Linked DNA regions of Homo sapiens: region 2 is linked to region 1. The links are contacts of gene promoters, found by promoter capture Hi-C in human tissues and cell types (Jung and others, 2019). All regions are on one chromosome and are shown on one strand. The core of a region is centred on a gene start or on the middle of the fragment in contact, and the rest is flanking DNA. Distances in the headings are between cores, read along the strand shown.

Region 1 (3,049 bases), core at 40-2,539:
CTCCTGGATCCTCCCATCAAAACTCAAGCGTCTGTTAAGTGATGGTTCTTTTTTTTTTTTTTTTTTTTTGAGACAGAGTCTCACTTTGTCACCCAGGCTGGAGTGTAGTGGCGCGACCTCAGCTCACTGCAACCTCCGCCTCCCGGATTCAAGCAATTCTCCTGCCTCAGCCTCCCGAGTAGCTGGGATTACAGGCACCCGCCACCATGCCCAGCTAATTTTTGTATTTTTAGTAGAGACAGGGTTTCAGTACGTTGGCCAGGCTGGTCTCAAACTCCTGACCTTGTGATCTGCCCGCCTCCGCCTCCAAAGTTCTGGGATGACAGCTGTGAGCCACCACACCCGGCCTAAGTGATGGTTCTAACCAGCAAGATGACCTTGAGCAAGCCTCTTCTCAGGGCCTCAACTATCAAATGCAGTGAAGATAACACATTCAGAAGCCAAGAGCCTGGGCTGCAAAACCTCTTAAGAAAGTGAAGAACAGTCAACGTGTAGTGAGCAACTACAAGATGCTGGTTTTACAATTGCAGCCATCGCTGGTTTCACTGTCCTCATTTGACTGAGAAACCCAAGGCCCAGAGAGGGGAAGTGACTGACCAAGAACACACAGCCAGGCAGTGCAGAGTCCAAGTTCACACCCAGGCCCTGGACTGATGCCTCTTCCTTTTCACCCACCCAACCATCCAACCAGCACAGGAGCTTGCACTTATGGTTCTGACCTTCCCTGAACCCTCTCTCATTCCCATGTTTTAGAGACAAGACAATTGAGGCTCAGAAGCACTAACTCACCTGGCCAAGGTCACCCAGCCTTTCACATAGGAGCCAGGATCCAGGCATGTGTGTGAATTCCAAGCTCGGAGCTCTTCCTATTGCTGTTCTGTAACACAGCCCCCCTGACTCCCACCCAGCGCTCAGAGCCTGGGCTTCTGTCTGAACCTGTCCCAGGCCTGGGCTGCTTAAAAGCAGCAAAAAGTTCCTCCTGCAGCTTCAACTTGAGCCTGTCACCATCATCAGCATACCCCGAGAGACTCTGGGGTGCCTGGGACAGGTAGCTGCAGATGCCTCCGGCCCCAAGTTGCCCTCTGCTCCTCCCGAGTTGTGCTCCTCCATGCCAGAGGAGGGAGGACAGCTCCCCTTGCCTCCTAGGCGGTTGGCAGAGTGGCAGCGGCTGCTGCTTCTTCCTGCTGCTGGCTGATGGAGAGATTATTTCTAAGCCCTTCCCATTCCACACCCCCCCACACTGGCTGTCCCCGTGGGACTTGAAGTGCAGAGTCCGCTGCTCAACCAGGACAGCTGCCCTGGCTCCCTCCCAGCAAGAACCCCCAGACCCTCATCTCTCATAAGGAAAGGGACTTCTGGGTCCTTTAAAAAAAAAAAAAAATCCCACCTCAATCCCCCAGGGCTCTCCTGCAGCTGCTGGAGAGAGAGATGCAGAATGAATGAACTTCTGGTTTCTGGAGGAGGCACGGGAAGAAAGATTGGAAACTGACTCTGCTAGAAACTGCTGTTTTGGGGATTTTTTTCTTCCCCTTCATCTCCACCAGAAACCTGTCCCTTCCCTGGGCACCAAGAGATGGGCTCCCCTTGCCTGGCAGAGAAACAGCTGGAAACTGGCTCCCTGAGACAAGAAGGTGAGTTAAACTGGAGGGGAAGAGTTACTGCTTGCTGTAGGGTGGGCGGGGGCCAGGGGGAAGTTGACGCTGTTAGACATCCTTGGCAAAAGTGCTGGTTTGAGTGAATTCCTTTCCCGTGCTCCAGAAGGAGCTGTTTGCCAGCTGTTTGGAGAGCCGTAGATGGCAAAATTGGGTTTATTCAGTGAATGCAGAAAGGGCAGTTTTCAGGTTCTGGAAGGAGCCCCAGGCTGGGGGACAGAGTGCTGGGTTGGATTCGGATTTGCTGTGTGACCTTGGACAAGTTACTTCCGCTCGCTGGGTCTTGGTTTTTGCACTGGGAAAATGAGGAAGCTTGCAAAGGGCTCCCCAGATTTCAAAATACTCTTCTCTCTGCAGGCTCCTCATCCTCCTCTGGCCATTCCCTGTGAGCAAAGTAATGCATTCAGAGCAACAGAATGTTGTGTAGGGAGCAAGAGTGTGAAATAGGTTACGATTCACTCTCCACTATCCACCGGAATCCAACCGGCTCTGAAATTGAGAGGAACTTTGATTTCCGTTCCACTGCCGAGTTTTTCTCTTGATTGGAGTGGAGTGCATCTGAAAATGTAAGCTTATAGATGCTTTGGAAATGGCTTTGGCTAGAATGAATAGCATAAGAAATGGTTGCAGGATCTGAAGGTGAGAAATATTATGAAAAGGACTTTTTAAATATGTGAAGTGGCTAAATCTAAAACACTCACACTAAGTCAAGCACCTCATATAGGTCTGAAATGGAGACAGCATTAGAGGCCCCGTCATTTTTTTTTGTTTTTTTCTTTTTGAGATGGAGTCTCGCTCTGTTGTCCAGGCTGGAGTGCAATGGCGCAATCTCGGCTTACTGCAGCCTCCGCCTCCCGGGTTCAAGCGATTCTCCTGCCTCAGCCTCCCGAGTAGCTGGGACTACAGGTACATGCCACCTTGCCTAGCTAATTTTTGTATTTTTAGTAGATACAGGGTTTCATTGGCCAGGCTGGTCTCGAACTCCTGACCTCAGATGATCTGCCTGCCTCTGCCTCGCAAAGTGCTGGGATTACAGGCATGAACCACTGCGGCTGGAGGCCCCTTCATTCTGCACATAAAAGCCTGCGGGCCCAGAGAGGGGGAGTAACTGGCTGGAGGTCACACAGCAAGGATGGCTGAGGCAAGCACGCAACGAACATGGAGGAGTACTGTGATTGCAAGTACGCAATGCTCCTCCGTCCCCTTAGCAAAGGCCTCCCCAAATGGGGAAGCGACCAAGAGGGATTAAGCGAGACTGGTGGAGTTCCTCCTGAGACCTAGATGCTTGGATGCTCGCTAAGCATAGTCACATTCCTGGGCTACTCGAACCTTTAATAACAGACCCTCGCTGAACCTTCCTGATGTCAGGTGCTTGCTAAACAGTAGGCAAGACACGC
Region 2 (3,130 bases), core at 631-3,130, 150 kb after region 1:
CAGAAAAGTGAATCTATTAGGGATTCTGCAGTGTTGATGAGATCTGTGTGCAAAGCATCCGGGTAAAGAGGCAAACGGAAGAGGTTTCTGCCTCTCTCTGAAAGAGCAGGTGCGAGCACAGTGACACTCATTCACAGGGGAAGTGCTGGCGGGCCTAACGGCAACATGGCCGGTGCTTTGGGAGTTGATGAGAGGGATCATTTAGGAGGGAGGCAGGGAGGACAGTGTCACAGGGGGGCCTTTGTGCTAAACTTAAGCAGCGTGAGATGCGAAACATTTGCCACTGAATCCCAGCCAGTACGCTCCTGTCTGGTTAGAGGTCTCAGTTTTCTTTCCACCAGCAGCTTCATTTTATTCTCTAGATAATGTTTATAAGTCATTTCTTGTGCTCGAAGTTTCTGTAGGATGCTTTACACAAATCCAGGGCATAAGACAAGGTGAAGCTATGTGAAGTTCATGTTTGCATATCAGAAAACGTGAATATTGGCATTCATAGGACTCTAGCCTAATAGTTGAGTAAATGATCGTGAACCTTGTTAGAGGTCCAGGGTTCTGGATTTTGCTGTCGCATCAGTGATACGTATCATGAGCCATAGATGTAAGTGGCATGAACATACCCTCGCTATAGCTCTGCCATGACAAACACCAGTTATTAAGTCATCTCGTCAGGTGTTCTTGTCTCCCTTTTAAATGTTCCTCCCATTTCTGATGTCCCCACTCAAGGCTGGCACTCATCGGTTCAGAGTCACCAGGTGTCAGTGTTTCCTAGCCTGTTTTCCAATCTTGAGTCTTTTCCCACCCCAGCTCTTCCAGCATGGACATGGGTGAAACTAGGTGTGGAAGCAGACAGGTCCGACCTGCCACTTACGGCTGAGGCACCGTCACTTCTCTGAGCCTCAGCTCCCTCACCTGTGATGGGAGTAGAGAGCAGCCTGCAGAGTACCTATGAGACTGAAATCAGACAGCAGGGGGAGAGCACCATGAATGCTGATGATGCTCTTTGAATGGAAGCTGCTCTTTTTCTTTTTTGTGCGTATTTCTACTGTTCAAACATATATTGTAGCAGTTTTCTAATCAAGAATCTGCAGCAGTTTATTATTGCCTAATAGATGAAATCCACATTTTTCTTTTGTTTTTCAAGGTCTTCAGTATTCTAGGCTGAATTGCAAACTTTTTCTGTAAAGGGTCAGATAATAAATATTTTAGGCGTTATTGTGTGAAAGCAGCTGCGGGTGATATATGTGTAAATGAACATGACTGTGTTCCAGGAACGCTGTATTTGCAAAAACAGGTGTGGGCCTGGTTTGGCCCATGGGCCGTAGTTGGCCAACTCCAGCCACAATCTCAGTTCACCTTGATCTTCCACTTCCCCATGTACACCTTCCTGGAATGAGTGTCCTCCTTCTGTTTCTCTCAGGTCTTCCGCACCCCATCCCTCTGCCCATCCTCCTGGCCATACCTGTCTGGATTCCCAGCTCTTTCGCATGCTGTTCGGACTGTTTTGTCACACGCTGGCTGCCGTTCTGAAACCCTGTGGCTTTTGTGGGTGGTTGCACTCCGTAGCTTCTTACCAGAGTTGTGAGTTTATGGTGTGTTGAAGGAGCAGAGCCTTGCCAGGAAGGCCCCATCTCCACCTTGTGTGTACGCTCATGCTGCCTCACACAGACCTGGCCACCTGCTGGCTGTTGAAGTGACAGAACGTGGCATGTGATCACGGCAGCCCAGCTTGTGGTGGGTGTGGTTTTTTCTGCTTGGGCATCTGGTGGGACTGCTTCCAGGGCTGGTCTGAGGACAGTAACATGCATACGTCAGCCCCTCTGGGAATGAGGCACACATCCTCCGGTCCCCTTTGCTGTGGTCTCTTTGTCTGGGTCCTGTGCCCTTGGTGCTCCTAGACTCTGTGGTGCCAGCAAGCCTGCAGCCTCACGTCCCTCCTTTTCAATACCAGCAATGATTTCTTGATGCGTTCCCTTATTTTTTAAGGGTTTAAAGTACACTAAGCATTATAGGGCTTAGCAGGTAGAGGAGGGTGGGAAGGTGGTATTTTTTTGGTCAACTTCAGTGGGAGTTTCTGTCAGTGACTTCTGTACCAGCCTCTGCTCCTTGAGTTCCTGGGAATGTGTAAACATCTAGCATCAGTCATCAGAAAATCATTATTCGTTCCTCTGAATGACCAGCTGGTAGGATATTGGTGGCCAGTGGGCTGAGGAGGCAGTACCACTTTTTCTCGGTGTGTTGGGAATTGTCAGTTAAAAACACACTCTAGAAGGAGAACTTCATGCTGCTATTATCTCTTAAGCCACTTGGAATCAGTTGTATGTAGTTGTTGATTTGTCAAAGAGTTCATTTTTTTTGGTAGTGGAGCCATAATAAAGCTTAGCAATGCAGTTTTATAACTGAGTGTCTCATATTTTCAAATGGTTCATCTTTATCTTGACTTTACGGTTTACACATTTTTGCCATTATTTATTTCACTATAATTTCTTTGCAGATCTAGTGCACTTAAGGTATTGGAGAGACTCTAAGGAGCTCAAGATTACAGAGTAATGATAGTCCTTCTACAGTTCCCTATGAGGAGGGTAGAACACCACCACAGGTCAATCGAAAACTTACCACTTCCTGACCTTGGCAGATGTAAATGTGTGGTTATGGTTTCTTCCAGGAGAAGTGTGTGATTTAGCTGGGGAGTTAAGATGAATGTGCTGGGAACAATTTGAAAGTGATGTGAGAATGTGTCGTTAGGTGATAAATTGTGATTGTGTTAAGTGTTGTGAGGTTCAAGGCAAGTACAGATGCTTAAGGCTTGGATTGCTGGAGGGAAAACGTGAGCCTTGAGCCCCAGTGTGCCAAGTTGACAGGGAGGAGAAGAAAGGAGGGGCGTTGCAGGTGAGAGGGCGTAATGTGAGCACAGCATGAACGTGGCAGGATCATGCGTTTCACAGGACAGCCGTGAGGAGCTGCACACGTCTTCCCACAGAAGCAGCTCATACAGTGTTAGATTGTTCTGGGAGTATTCGCCCTGGTTTGAATCATCCATTTTAAATTATTTCTCTTGTTTTTTTCTTTTTCTTTTCTTTTTTTTTTTTTTTGGTCTCAATATAGCACTCTGAATAACCCTGCTGATCAAATG

The links. The method cuts DNA at HindIII sites, captures the fragments that hold promoters and counts their contacts. A contact is called where the count stands out against the background at its distance.
Region 2: a fragment that was not itself captured here is called in contact with the fragment with the promoter of KCNG4 in region 1 in 2 of the 25 tissues and cell types used here (heart left ventricle and mesendoderm cells).

The regions. Positions count from the first base shown.
Region 1 is chr16:84,238,252-84,241,300 of GRCh38, reverse strand. It overlaps KCNG4 (potassium voltage-gated channel modifier subfamily G member 4), which reads left to right and starts at 1,289. Exons shown (of 3, transcript NM_172347.3): 1 at 1,289-1,631. The HindIII fragment of the contact is 8,358 bases long and covers 1-3,049 here.
Region 2 is chr16:84,087,433-84,090,562 of GRCh38, reverse strand. MBTPS1 (membrane bound transcription factor peptidase, site 1) reads left to right here. Exons shown (of 23, transcript NM_003791.4): 9 at 3,103-3,130. Among named protein-coding and RNA genes, the nearest start is that of MBTPS1, 28 kb to the left of the region's middle. The HindIII fragment of the contact is 3,166 bases long and covers 298-3,130 here.